3 separate regions of the Homo sapiens genome follow, and all the other regions are linked to region 2. The links are contacts of gene promoters, found by promoter capture Hi-C in blood cells and fetal thymus (Javierre and others, 2016). All regions are on one chromosome and are shown on one strand. The core of a region is centred on a gene start or on the middle of the fragment in contact, and the rest is flanking DNA. Distances in the headings are between cores, read along the strand shown. Region 1 holds the start of BTBD6 (BTB domain containing 6). Region 2 holds the start of PLD4 (phospholipase D family member 4). Region 3 overlaps PACS2 (phosphofurin acidic cluster sorting protein 2).

What was found. The method cuts DNA at HindIII sites, captures the fragments that hold promoters and counts their contacts. A CHiCAGO score of 5 or more calls a contact.
Region 1: the fragment with the promoter of BTBD6 here is called in contact with the fragment with the promoter of PLD4 in region 2 in 9 of 17 cell types (M1 macrophages, erythroblasts, monocytes and 6 more); the score reaches 7.4 in M1 macrophages.
Region 3: a fragment that was not itself captured here is called in contact with the fragment with the promoter of PLD4 in region 2 in 1 of 17 cell types (total CD4 T cells); the score reaches 5.9 in total CD4 T cells.

Annotation. Positions count from the first base shown.
Region 1 is chr14:105,245,871-105,250,359 of GRCh38, forward strand. It overlaps BTBD6 (BTB domain containing 6), which reads left to right and starts at 2,663. Exons shown (of 4, transcript NM_001387567.1): 1 at 2,663-3,215; 2 at 3,287-3,377; 3 at 3,490-3,608; 4 at 3,770-4,489. The coding sequence starts at 2,842. All of the region lies in intron 5 of BRF1 (BRF1 general transcription factor IIIB subunit), which reads right to left. RefSeq lists enhancers at 2,289-3,079, 3,871-4,489 and silencers at 2,455-3,014, 3,215-3,264. The HindIII fragment of the contact is 26,340 bases long and covers 1-4,489 here.
Region 2 is chr14:104,921,376-104,926,300 of GRCh38, forward strand. It overlaps PLD4 (phospholipase D family member 4), which reads left to right and starts at 3,504. Exons shown (of 11, transcript NM_138790.5): 1 at 3,504-3,615. RefSeq lists enhancers at 1,233-1,282, 3,677-3,846, 3,829-4,338. The HindIII fragment of the contact is 16,221 bases long and covers 1-4,925 here.
Region 3 is chr14:105,353,817-105,358,330 of GRCh38, forward strand. It overlaps PACS2 (phosphofurin acidic cluster sorting protein 2), which reads left to right. Exons shown (of 25, transcript NM_001100913.3): 4 at 1,236-1,361. Among named protein-coding and RNA genes, the nearest start is that of PACS2, 41 kb to the left of the region's middle. The HindIII fragment of the contact is 1,302 bases long and covers 1,267-2,568 here.

The sequences.
Region 1 (4,489 bases), core at 1,413-3,912, 320 kb after region 2:
CTTGAACATGACACCAACAGCAAGGGCAACGAAAGTAAAAATAGACAAATGGGATGACCTCAAACTAAAAAGTTTCTGCACAGCAAAGGAATCTATTAACAGAAATGATATCCTATAGAATGGAAGAGACTATGTGCAAACCATCTATCTCATAAGGGGTTAACAGCCTGAATATACAAAAAACTCCAACTCAGGAACAAAATCGATTAAAAATGGGCAAACTGCACTTTTGTAATCCCAGCTCTTTGGGAGGCTGAGGCACAAGAATCGCTTGAACCTGGAAGGCGGATGTTGCAGTGCACCCTCACCACCGCACTCCAGCCTGGGCAACGGAGTAAGACTCTGTCTCAAAAAAAAAAGGCAAAGCCCTTGAACAGACGTTTCTCCAAACACGCCATGCAAATAGCCAACAAGCACATGAGTAGATGGTCAACATCATTATTTATCAGGGACATGCAAATCAAAACCACATGACACTACCTCATGTCCATTAGGATGACCATTATCACAAACAAAAAAGAATAGGCTGGGCGCGGTGGCTCACACCTGTAATCCCAGCACTTTGGGAGGCCTAGGCAGGTAGATCACTTGAGGCCAGGAGTTTAAGACCAGCCTGGTCAACGGAGTCTCGCTCTGTCATCCAGGCTGGAGTGCAGTAGCATGATCTCAGCTCACTGCAACCTCCGCCTCCCTGGTTCGAGCCATTCTCCTTCCTTGGCCTCCCGAATAGCTGGGATTACAGGTGCCCGTTAATTTTTGTATTTTTAGTAGAGATGGGGTTTCACCATGTTGGCCAGGCTGGTCTCAAACTCCTGACCTCAAGTGATCCGCCCACCTTGGCCTCCCAAAGTGCTGGGATTACAGGCGTGAGCCACCGCGCCCAACCTACACTGTAACATATTTAAAAATCAAAGTGCAAAGGGTGGTTTCTTTCTAAGGATGAAAATTATTATTCACATGCTCCACACCACCATGCAGATCAAGACGCTGACTACCTCTGGCGGCTCAGCAATTCTATCCTGGCACCCCCGGAGACAGCTGTCGCCCAGGTCTTGTGTGCTGCTGTAAGTTATTCCTTCTCACTGCATTCCCCAAATGGACCCACCACAACCTGCTGATCCTTTCTGTTGCTGATGGACATGTAGGCTGTCTCCACTCTGGCCATTTGTATTTCTCCTGGAAACTGCTTATGCCCGTTACCTTTTTCTATGGAAACAGACGGCTGGGACAGAAACCACGGCCACAGCAGCCAGCGTGTCTTTGCCAGTGGGGTCCCACACTATGAAATCGCAGCTGTGGCCTCGGTGGGTGTGTCCTTGGCGGGTGCATCCACACACTTTCTCTCGGAACTTTCCGGACTCTCATGCATATGCTACAGCTTTCCAAACGGCTTGGCCGTGCGGAGTTACGCACCCACCTGCAGCAGGTGATCTCCAGCTGCTCTGCATTCCACCAACACTACGTGACAAGTCTCAAGTTCAGCCGCCTGGGGGCTCGGGCACCCCATTCCTGGGAGAAATGATGATTTGTGCACTCTGGGCCATTGCATGGTGTCTGTTCACGTCCTTTGCCCGTTTTTTAAAAAACTGGGTTGTCAGCCTTTTCCTTCCTGACTTGTAGTTGCTCCTCCATCCTGGAGAGTCCTTTGTTGAAAATACCGCAAATATCTTCTGAAGAGGACTCTCCCAGGGAACATTCACTACAACTGTAACGACCACAGAGACACAGAGCTCCTGTTCACTGTTTAGCCCAGGACTGCGGTGACAGGTGCACCCATGACCCGAGATGCTGGCTGCGTCCTGTGGGGTTTCCTGCATATGGAAGTTTTAAAAGTCTAAAGCCTGGCGGTCCAGGAGGTTGCGTGTGTGTCCTCGGGGAGGAACCCTCCTGACAGCCAGGCCTCTGGAGCTTCGTCTGCACGCGAGCTTGGCATGCACCAGCTGTGCGGCCCAGGCCAGGTGACACGGCCTCTGAAGTCTGGTCTCCTCATCAGCAAAGCCAGTGCCCCATGCCACGCACCTCCCAGGATTAGCCCCAGGCCGGGAGGCTAGAGGCCCCACAAGGAGCGAGCCTGCGACTGCGATCCACAGGCAGAGCCACAGAGGCAGGGCGCGCCCTGGGGCCCAAGCTCCAGGGCTGCAGGCCCAGGGCCAGATCCTGACTTGCCCACCCGCCGGCTGTGTGACCTTCAGCGCGCGACTAACCTCTCTGTGCCTATTTCCTCGAGGAAAATGCCGGGAAATAGCAGCGCCTGCCCCTGTAAAGCCCTCAGAGCAGAGTGGACCGCGCTCTCTGCAAGCGCTGGCTGCTGGCGTCCGTAGCAAGCTAAATCGCGAAGCATCTGAACGAACGAGGAAGCCCAACGACCATCCCACAGGCCGCGGCCAGAGGCAGACTCCGGAATGCAAATGGCCAAACAAGCAGGTCCACCTGCGTTCCTAACCAAAAGATCGCTAACTGAAGAACGGGCGCAAGCACCTGCGCATGGCACTGCGGGTCTGGGGGCGGCCGCCTGCCAGCGCCGGGAGCCGCCTTCCACGGCTACCTCTGCACAGCGCGCGGCTCGCGCCGGTTGCTGGGCAGAAGCTCGAGCAGCTTCGAGGATGTCGGGCCTGGGGGCGGGGCCGCGAGGCAGCGACGTCGCGCGGGGCGCGGCCCTGACGCAGCGTGACGCACCGGCGCCGCGGCGGGTACGGGCTCGGGCGGGCGGGCGGGCGGGACGGCGCCCCCCGCGGCCGGGCCTGGCCGGGCTGCGCTAGGCTGGGCTCGGGCAGGGTCGCAGGGGCGGGGGTGGCAGGGGAGCGGGTGGCAGCCCCGCGGGTCACAGCGCCGCCGCCGCCCATGCTGCTGCCCCTAGCCTGCCTGCACGGCCGCGTCGCTCAGTGCCTGACCTCCTTGCTTTTGCTTGCAGAGCCGCTCCCGAGGCCCCGGCGCGGCGCGAGGGCGCGGGGCGCGGCGTCCACAGGCGCCGAGGCTGCCCCCGCCGCCCCGCCCGCGAAGATGGCGGCGGAACTCTACGCTCCCGCCAGCGCCGCGGCCGCGGACCTAGCCAACAGCAACGCCGGCGCCGCCGTGGGCAGGAAGGCCGGGCCGCGCAGCCCGCCCAGCGCCCCCGCGCCAGCGCCGCCGCCGCCCGCGCCCGCGCCGCCCACACTCGGCAACAACCACCAGGAGAGCCCCGGCTGGCGGTGCTGCCGCCCCACGCTGCGCGAGAGGTGAGCCCGTGCCCCGCGGCCCCCGCGCCCGCGCGCGCCCACGCCCCCAGCCCGTGCCTCTACCTTTGCAGGAACGCGCTCATGTTCAACAACGAGCTCATGGCCGACGTGCACTTCGTCGTGGGGCCCCCGGGGGCGACCAGGACGGTGCCCGCCCACAAGGTGGGTAGCGGCGGCCCCTCTCGGAACGCGTGCCCCGTCCGCCCCGTCCGCCGTGTGGCTGACACGCAGCCTGCGGGAGAGCCAGGCTCACGGCGGCGCTTTCTCCTCCCAGTACGTCTTGGCTGTCGGCAGCTCCGTCTTCTATGCCATGTTCTACGGAGACCTGGCGGAAGTCAAATCTGAAATTCACATTCCAGACGTGGAGCCCGCAGCCTTTCTGATCCTCTTAAAGTAAGTCCACTCTACTGGGGAGGGACGGGTGGGTCCGTTTTAGGCGGCCTCCGGAGGCTTCTGAAGGGAAGCACACAGGAGCTGATGGACTCCTCTCCCAGGCCCAGCCCCGCGATGGGTGCTTGGGAGCCAGCCCCTGACGCGGGCCCTGCCTCGCCTAGGTACATGTACAGTGATGAGATCGATCTGGAAGCCGACACGGTGCTGGCCACTCTGTACGCTGCTAAGAAGTACATCGTCCCAGCATTGGCAAAAGCCTGTGTCAACTTTCTGGAGACAAGTTTGGAAGCCAAGAACGCCTGCGTCCTGCTGTCCCAGAGCCGGCTGTTTGAGGAGCCCGAGCTGACGCAGCGCTGCTGGGAGGTCATTGACGCACAGGCCGAGATGGCCCTACGGTCCGAAGGCTTCTGTGAGATAGACCGGCAGACGCTGGAGATCATTGTCACTCGGGAGGCCCTCAACACCAAAGAGGCGGTGGTCTTCGAGGCCGTCCTGAACTGGGCCGAGGCGGAGTGCAAGAGGCAGGGGCTGCCAATCACCCCACGAAACAAGAGGCATGTTCTGGGGCGAGCCCTCTATCTGGTCCGAATTCCAACCATGACCCTAGAGGAGTTTGCCAACGGCGCTGCCCAGTCAGACATCCTGACTCTGGAGGAGACCCACAGCATCTTCCTGTGGTACACGGCCACCAACAAGCCCCGCCTGGACTTTCCCCTGACCAAGAGGAAGGGCCTCGCCCCGCAGAGGTGCCACCGATTCCAGTCTTCTGCCTACCGCAGCAACCAGTGGCGGTACCGCGGGCGCTGCGACAGCATCCAGTTTGCAGTGGACAGAAGGGTATTTATTGCAGGGCTGGGCCTGTATGGCTCCAGCTCTGGGAA
Region 2 (4,925 bases), core at 2,254-4,753:
GTAGTAAAGCCATCTGGTCTATAGGCCTTTTGCGTTGTTGTTGGGAGATTTTTATTACTGTTCCAATCTCATCACTCCTTATTGATCTGTTCGGGTTTTTTTGTTTCTTCCTGATTCAATCTCGGCAGCTACGCGTGTCCAGGGATGTCTCCATTTCCTCCAGGTTTCCAGTTTCTGAGTGTATAATTTCTCATGTAGTCTCTGGTGATCTTTTGTATTTCTGTGATATCAGTTGTAATGTCTCTTTTTTGTTTCTGGTTTTGGTTATTTGGGTTGTCTCTCTTTTTTTCTTCATTATCAACTTAGAATATTTTCAGCTTCCATTTATGATGGGCTTATCAGGACATAGCTCCACCATGAGGTGAGGTGTGTCTGATGTGCTTACGGTGGGGTTTAAGTGCTCCCACAAGCCTGCTCTGACAGTCTGTACTTATTTGGGGTAAAAAACAAAAAAAAACAAAAAAAAAAAAAACAAAAAACTTAGCTCTGCTGACAAATAATGAGTCATATTTTCCCACAAAGTTAATTTTTGAAATAACAAAGGAAATTAAAGAAAAAATGTTCAGGCTGGGCACGGTGGCTCACACCTGTAATCCCAGCACTTTGGGAGGCCGAGGCAGGCAGATCACGAGGTCAGGAGATTGAGACCATCCTGGCTAACACGGTGAAACCCCGTCTCTACTAAAAATACAAAAAATTAGCTGGGCGTGGTGGCGGGCACCTGTAGTCCCAGCTACTCGGGAGGCTGAGGCAGGAGAATGGCGTGAACCTGGGAGGCAGAGCTTGCAGTGAGCCAAGATCACACCACTGCACTCCAGCCTGGGCGACAGAGCGAGACTCCGTCCAAAAAAAAAAAAAGTAAAATGACAGGAAAAGATATAACATTCAAACAGCAACTCAAAGAGAGGTGGAGTTCCTATACTAATATCAGAAAATATAGATATTAAGACAAAAATTATTGTTAGAGACAAAGAAGGATGTGTTATAATGATAAGAGGGTGATCCATAAGGAAGATATAATAACTAGAAACACATATGCACTAGCTGGGCACGGTGGCTCATGCCTGTAATCTCAGCACTTTGGGAGCCTGAGGCGGGTGGATCACGAGGTCAGGAGATTGAGACCATCCTGGCTAACACGGTGAAACCCCGTCTCTACTAAAAATACAAAAAATTAGCTGGGCATGGTGGCGGGCGCCTGTAGTCCCAGCTACTCTGGAGGCTGAGGCAGGAGAATGGCCTGAACCTGGGAGGCGGAGCTTGCAGTGAGCCGAGATGGCGCCACTACACTCCAGCCTGGGCGACAGAGCAAGACTCCATCTCAAAAAAAAAAAAAGTTTTGCTTCATGGGAAATCCCCAAAGTCCCTCCCCACACCCCATGGGACCAAAGGGCCCTAGACCTCAGGGTGGGGCCTGCAGCGCAGGGAGCAGAGCCGGCAAGGAGCTGCCCTCAGGTCGTTCCTGGCCACACAGCCAGCCTCGGAGCCACTGAGAGGCCTGCCCTGGGTCCCGAATCTAGACGCCCCTTCCAGCCTCAATCTTTCTTCCAGGGTAAGCAGCCTGAGAGGCCAAGAGGACAGTCCACCGAACCCTGAGCCCAAGGCCCAGGATTCCTTGCTTAAACATCCCCAAGCCTGGATCCATCCTCCCGAGGTAGAGCTGCCTGAGCTGTACCCAGTCCTGCTGGCCTGAGGGGCAGCCAGGGGAGGTGACGTGGTGCTTTTCTGGGGCTGCAATGAGCTCAGACCCACGGGCTGGGTGTAGCATGTGGGCTCATTGAGGCCCCTCACAATGTGGGGAAATCGGAGAGGGGACTGGCTGGGGCTGGCCCTCCTGCAAGGACTTCTGAGAGTGCTCCAAGGAGCCCTGGGGTCCTCCACTTGCCCCTGGCCTTCCAGGCCCTCACACACCATTGTTGTCCAGACAGAAGAGACTGGGCGCTGTGGTTCACGCCTGTAATCCCAGCACTTTGGGAGGCCGAGGCGGGTGGATCATCTGAGTTCAGGAGTTCGAGACCAGCCTGGCCAACATGGTGAAACCCCGTCTCTAATAAAAAATACAAAAATTAGCCGGGCGTGGTGGCACGTGCCTTAATCCCAGCTACTTGGGAGACAGAGGCAGGAGAATCGTATGAACTCGGGAGGCAGAAGTTGCAGTGAGCCGAGATAAAGCCGTTGCACTCAAACCTGGGGTACAAGAGCGAGACTTCTCTCAAAGGAAAAAGAAAAAAAAAAAGACAGAAGAGAACCTGTTCTGTCTAACTGCCTTTTGCTTGAGTGCAGGGAAGGCAGCCTCCCTTCATACTCATGCCCCAGCCCTGCAAATGTCACAGCAGGACCCACCTGGCTGCCCCTCCCCATACCCAGAGTAACCCTCACCCAGAGTCCCTGGAGGACCCAACCCTCGGGGGCATGCCTGGGGCCCAGCTGCATTCAGGCATCCAGCAACCCAGCCAGAGGGCTGGGGCTCCCCAACCATGGCCGGGAGGTAAGGGCTGAACCCAAGGCCAAATCAGAGCATCAGGAAGGTGAAGAGAGATCTGGGAGGGGCTAGGGAGAGGATGGATCTCTTCCCCATTCACTTCCTGGCCCACCCAGACTGGCCCCAGGGGTGCAGCTGACAGGCCCCACCCTTGGGAACTGCACCCTCCTGACTGGTGTCCTGCAGGCACCCTGAGGCCATCACCCTGGACCCCTGCCCTACATAGGCCTTACAAGGAGGAGCCAGGGTGGACACCCAGACCTCATTGAAAGTAGGAGTGTTCTCAAGGTCCCAGACCTTACTCAGGGACCCCAGTCGGGGGGTGGGGCAGTGGGAGGCAGAGCCCCTTGCTAGGAGCTTCTAGCCAGGCCCACCTTTTCAGATATGCCAGTGAGCAGCCCCAGCTTCGTTCTCCAAGATAAAGACCCTAGTTACCTCCATTGCTCAGCCTCCCTTGCAGCTAAGTGTAGCCATGTGACTAAGTTCTAGATCAAGTTCCAGATCACAGATAAGTGGAAGTGCCCTGTGGGACTTCCAGGAAGTCTCCTCTGGGATGTCCCTTATTCTCTGCTAAGAACACAGAGGCAATGGCTGAGTTCCAGCAGCCACTGTGAGGCCATGAAGGCAGGGATCCTAGGGACTGGGATCTGAGAGCCTGGCTCCCAATGGCAGTGGAGCAATGCCATCATCTCTAGCAAGGCCGTCTCTAGCCTGCCAGCCCCTGGACCTGCTTAGTGTTCGAGAGTAATGAACAACCTTGCTGAAGCCACTGTTCCTTAGGTGTCTGTGGCCTGCAGCTGAACTTGACTCCGATTCGTAGGCCCGCAACTGGAGGGCCTCTACCTCGAGGGAGTGGGGTGTAGATTTTTCCTGGAGGTGAAGGTTCTCAGCCCTACCCTCTAGCCCGCCCACCCAGCTCCAGCCGTCTGTTTCTGTCTCAGATGAGAGGGGGCCTCTCAGGACAAAGAGGAAGTAGCTGGAAGGGGAAGGAGCCAGCTGCAGAGAGGAGGAGGTGAGCTGCAGAGAAGAGGAGGTTGGTGTGGAGCACAGGCAGCACCGAGCCTGCCCCGTGAGCTGAGGGCCTGCAGTCTGCGGCTGGAATCAGGATAGACACCAAGGCAGGACCCCCAGAGGTATGTGCCAATGAGGCCAGGGCAGCTGAGAAAAGCCAGGCATGGGGAAAGGGCTGCTGTCTGCCTCCCTATGGCCTCAGCCTCCCAGCAACCCCAGGTCCAGAGAGTCACACAGCCTCCAGCTAGTCCTGTAGATGACTCGCTCCGTCCCCAGTCCGTGCAGCTGGGATAAGCTGGGCCCTGGCTCTCCAGCCAGGTGACAGCTGGGCCCTCTACCTCAGCCTGGGACTGGCAGCCATGCCTAATGCCCTGCAGGGCAGGAAATCTGGCACCTTCAGCCATGACCTCTGATGTCTGCAGGGTCTTACGCTATCTACCATGGGACCAGGGGGCTACAGCCCTACTCTGCAGGGGTCTCTCAGCTTGAGCCAACCTGGCTGGCGGTCCTCCCAGGTTCCATTGCAGGAGGAGGTGGTGAGGCGCTCTGGGGTCTGTAGTCCTGGGAGGGGACTTGGACAGGCTCCAAGTCTGAGATGGGGCCTGCAAGAGGCAGCGCCTCTGTGCTCTGAGCTGCCCGTCTGCCTGGAGCATTTAAGGGAGCAAAGGTCCTCTCTGGTGAGGGCAGGGAGTGTGGGGAGCAGCTGTCCAAGAACAGCCCTGGCACCTCGTTGCCCAGCCACAGCCCAGGATTCCATGTTTCCTCTCATTGACCAGCCACAGCCCAGGATTCCATGTTTCCTCTTCTGAGAGTTAGTGGGGGAGAGCAAAGGCCCGATGCTGGGCCCTGAATCCCTGGGGACAGTGGGGACACGGTGGGCACCCTGAGGTCTCCTCTGTGGGGTGGGGGGAGCATCCCCCAGAGTTCAGCTCTGGGGTGGGGGCGGCACCCACCCACCTCTGCAGGACCCCCCAGCGTGGGGGGAGTTGGGCCGCAGTGACTTGGCCTGAGTCCCCTGTCCCCACACTTGGTTTATGCTCCTACCCCCAATCCCCCATAACGCTTGGTCTCCAGGGCAGACTCAGTCCAGGCCCGACTCCTGTGGTGTTCCTGGCATTTCCGCCCCATGCTGAGGCAGGCCAGGTTCTCAAAGCCCTCAGCCCTGACCCGTGGGAGGACAGCCCAGACGAACCCCAGAGGCCTGGAGGCTGAGCTGGCTGCTCCTGGGTGGACAGCCGACCCACCGAGCCCTGGGTCCCAGCGCCCAGCCTGGCTGCAGACACTGGCACTCAGCACTGCCCAGGCCCAGGCCCCAAACCTCGGAGACATCCCCATCCCAGCCAGGGGCCAGCCAGCTCCTGCCCTGGTGGATGTCTCAGTCAGAGGCTGGCCAGCCAGGTGACCATGCTGGGCACAGACCCCTCCCTGCACC
Region 3 (4,514 bases), core at 668-3,167, 430 kb after region 2:
CTCCTGACTGCATGATCTGCCTGCCTCGGCCTCTCAAAGTGCTGGGATTACAGGCGTGGGACACCATGCCCAGCCTAGTTTTTCATTCCTTATCTATGATAAAGAGAATATAAGGCCGGGTGTGGTGGCTCATGCCTGTAATCCCAGCACTTCGGGAGGCCGAGGTAGGTGGCAGGAGAATCGCTTGAACCCGGGAGGTGGAGGTTGGTTGCAGTGAGCTGAGATCATGCCATAGCACTCCAGCCTGGGGGACAGAGTGAGACTCCATCTCAAAAAAAAGAGAGAATATAATAACGAGGGCAAAAAAACACTTACTGAGTCAAGGCTATTTTGCTCTTCTATTTAAAAAGATAGGGGAAACTCAGAGTTCACAAGCAATCCCAGCTCTTCGGGAGGCTGAGGCAGGAGGATTGCTTGAACCCAGGAGGTGGAGGTGACAGTGAGCCCGGCTAATTTTTGTATTTTTGTAGAGATGGGGTTTTGCCATGTTGGCTAGGGTGGTCTCGAACTCCCTACCTCAGGTGATCCGCCCAGCTTGGCCTCCCAAAGTGCCGGGATTACAGGTGTGAGCCACCGCGCCTGGCCCAATGCTCCATGGTTCAGTGGGTTTTGATAGGCATGCTCAGGCATGTCAGCACCACCGCAGTTAGGGTGGTGAACAGCCCCATTTTCCCCTAAGTATTTAAACTGATTTTTATTTGTGAACTCTGAGTGTCTAAGAGATACCTGTGAACATCAGCTTGCTGGAGCCCTGCTGGACAGGGAGCCTGTGGTGAGACGTGCAGGCGAGTTGGGTGAACAGGGGGCCTCGGAGGGAGAGCCCTCCCCGCCCTGTGTGCCCCTCGCGGAAAAGCGTCCTGGGTCCCACCTTGCTGATTGCCTCAGGCACATGAGCCGCCACACTGTTTCCGAGTGTCCACAGGCGCGCTCGGCCATCCCGGACACTGCAGCACATAGTCCTTGTCCACCTGCCATGGCTGTTAGCGTGGCGCGGAGCCCTCAGGGCCTGAGCTCTGGCGACTGGCTCACTCTTGATTGTGTTGGGTAAAGGATGGGCTCTGGGGACCGGCATGCCACTGGGATGAACTTGGGGGCCCGTCTGTGGGTGCCCTTCCGATCTCATGGGCAGCAGGTTGGCCTGGTCGCAGGCTGCAGGGTGGCTGGGCCGTCAGAGGCCGTGATGCTGCCTGGGGCCCCGGTGCACCCTCAGCTGCCACTCGCACTTGTGCCCACAGTATCCTCACTTCTTGAAGAGGGAAGGCAACAAGCTTCAGATCATGCTGCAGCGCAGAAAGCGCTACAAGAACAGAACCATCCTGGGCTACAAGACGCTGGCCGCGGGCTCCATCAGCATGGCTGAGGTGAGTGCTCCGTCTGGCGTGGCCTGCGTCGGGCTGGCCACCTGGGTGCCAGAGCATTCGCCCGTGGGAGATGGAGATGTCTCTCCCGGGTCCAGATGTCCAGGGATCAGGTGAAAATGATGAGAGGAGCCTGGGCGGCCGGGCTCCGCCATAAGGGCCAGGTGCGGCCCCAGGTGGTGCTTCCTCTCTGACCTTCCCTTGCCGCCTAGCATGGCTCCCCGCATGCCTGCAGCCGCGCGCACTCCCCTCTAACGAGCCTGTCCTGCCCTTCAGTGGAGGCTGGGTTTTGGGTCAGGCTGCTCTGGAGTCCTTCCCATGGAGGAATCGCTGCTGTCCCCACACCACGGGTGCGTCCTGTGATGGGTTCGTGTCTGCATCCTGCTCAGCACGTGCTCTGGCCCAGGATTGGCTGAGCAGGAGCAGGACAGGTGTCAGTTCTGTGAAGGGGCTAGCGACAATACCCGAGCAGGGCGGGGGCAGCACCCAGAGGTCAGAGGGGTGGCTGGAGTTCCCTGGAGGGGAAAGAAGGGGAAGTACCTCAAAAGGAAAAGAAACAGCCAAGCAGCAGCCCACCTTGCTCCAGAGAACCCAGCGTTCCAAGGAGGCTGCAGTAGGGCGTGGGGGCCTGGGAGAAGACACCCCAGGCTGAGGCCTCGGACTTTCTCATGGACCCTTTCGGGGCTGCAAGATTGGCTCTGGGAGAAGGGGCAGCCCAGGGCCCCAGACCAGTTTGTCTCTTTTGCTTCAGAACTTTCCCCATCGTGGGGTTGTGTTCAGGGGTCCAGGGGCTGCGGGCGTGAGTGGTGCTTGGGGCATGTGAAGCTGGGTTGCTGCCTGCCTGGGGCCTGGGAAGGTCAGCCAGCGCAGCCCCTCATTGGGAGCCGGAGATGCCAGAGCCCCCCAGCCCCTCTTCTTCCCACTTTGTCCCCCTGCTCCTGGGGCTTGGGGCTGGGACAGTGGGGGTGCCCACTTGTAGCTGGTTCCCCCACACCCCCAGGCCCAGCCTGCAGGCCTCCTGTCTCCCAGGTCAAGCGCTAGGTCCCCCAGATCCTCACACACCCCCACTTACGCATCCAGGACAAGTGCCAAGTACTACTCTGGGCTCAGCCCTCCCTGCTACCCCAGGAGATGGGAGCGTGGAGGGTACAGGAAGCAGCAGTGGCGTCCCGAGGCCTCGCTTCTCCGTGCCGCCGCAGGGCCTCAGACAAGCTTTGCAGTCTTCCCGATTCCTTCGGCAAACCACGGACAGCACGGGTGGACCGGGCCTCCAGGCTGCACTTCCCAGGGCCCTGGGACCCCTCTGGTGGCCTGGAGCTGCCCATCATCCCAGCCTCCCTCCTGCAGGCTGAGCGATGGGTGAACAGGTAGCTCAGGGATGCTCTCTGGGCTGTGAGAGCCTCCTGGGAGCCACCGCTTGCTTCCTGTGGAGCAGGAGGGTCCAGGCACTGTGGGGAGGTCATGCAGGCTCTGTTTCCCATTAGCCATGCAGGCGAGGTCCTGCTGATCCCTGCCGGTCCCTGTGTTTCCCATTAGCCATGCAGGCGAGGTCCTGCTGATCCCTGCCGGTCCCTGTGTTTCCCATTAGCCATGCAGGCGAGGTCCTGCTGATCCCTGCCGGTCCCTGTGTTTCCCATTAGCCATGCAGGCGATGTCCTGCTGATCCCTGCCGGTCCCTGTGTTTCCCATTAGCCATTCAGGCGATGTCCTGCTGATCCCTGCTGGTCCCTGTGTTTCCCATTAGCCATGCAGGCGATGTCCTGCTGATCCCTGCCGGTCCCTGTGTTTCCCATTAGCCATGCAGGCGATGTCCTGCTGATCCCTGCTGGTCCCTGTGTAGCCATGCAGGTGATGTCCTGCTGATCCCTGCCGGTCCCTGTGAGCTCCTGCCCCAGGCTGCTCCGCCCACATCTCTCAGTCTGCACCCCAGTGCCCCAGGCGGCTCCTCCCAGCCCCTCTCAGCACTGGTGCTTCTGTGTTTGACGTCCTTGCCCTGAATGCTGGCCTCTGCTCCCAGGCCCCTCCCTCACCTGTCCTCCCAGCCTTGGGCTGTCCCCTCCTGATCCCCGGGGAGAGGCTGGAGCAACCTTCCCCCACCCCAGGTCACACCAGCCACATCGTCTGCTGCTTGAAATCCCATCATCTGTTCTTCACTCTTGGCAGAAAAGCCCCACCCCTGGATGTAGTTCCAGTGCCCTGCCCCTGAGCCTGTGGCCCCCACCCCAAGGCTCCCTCGCCCTGCACCTGTGGCTTCCAAAGCCGAGGTCATCTGACTGCTCCTCGCTCTCCCCTCCAGCATCTCCTCCAGGCCCTCGGGGCATCCTTCCACCTTCCACTGGCAGCCTGGTCCCAGAACCTAGTTGGGTCCTCCCATGTGTCCCCGAGCACCAGGGCGGTTCATGGGCTCCCTGTGTCCTGCCACCTTTTGGGGCTGGTTCCCACCTGTGAGCGTTGCTGGCTTGTTGAGAGTATGAGCACGGGAGATTGCGGAGGCGGGACAGCCCCGAGGGCACAGACGGACACAGGTGGCAGAGGTGGGGGGCTCTCACCAGCTGGGCTCAGGCAGCTGTGCCATGGGGGCTTGCTGGCTCCGAGACTGCACGCCTGAGACGGGGGTGAGGGCATGGGTGCTGCCATAGGGACTGTCGTGAGAGTGGGGTGTCGGTGAGGCTGGCGCCATGCATTTGAGAGTAGTGCTCGGCGGTGGGGAAGGGTCCTTGAGGGCACAGGGTGGGGTGAGGCGGGCTGTTGGGCGGACTCGAGGCCAGGGCTGAGAGTGTGGTGGGAGAGGATGTGGGGGGCACCTGCCCAGGACCTCCAGGCTGTGGGGAGACCAGGAGGCGATGGCTGTGGGGACACAGGTGTCATCTCCCTTCAAATGGGTGCACACGCAGGGGGCAGGAGGGGCTGGGAGCAGCCTGGGCCCCTGCCACACCATAGCTCTGCCCTCACCTGGCACTCATTCTGTGTGAGCTGAGGCCCAGAGCCCTGGACTTACTCTGAGGCTGAGGAAGTGGAGTCCAAGGTGGCCCAGGGTAGGGGCCGGGCCTCATGGGTGCCAGGAGCTGGACGCCGGCGTGGGGTGGCTTAGGTCTGCAGGCTGACCAGCAGTTCTGGCTGGGACCATCAGGAGTGACCGCAGCCCCAGGGCCTGCT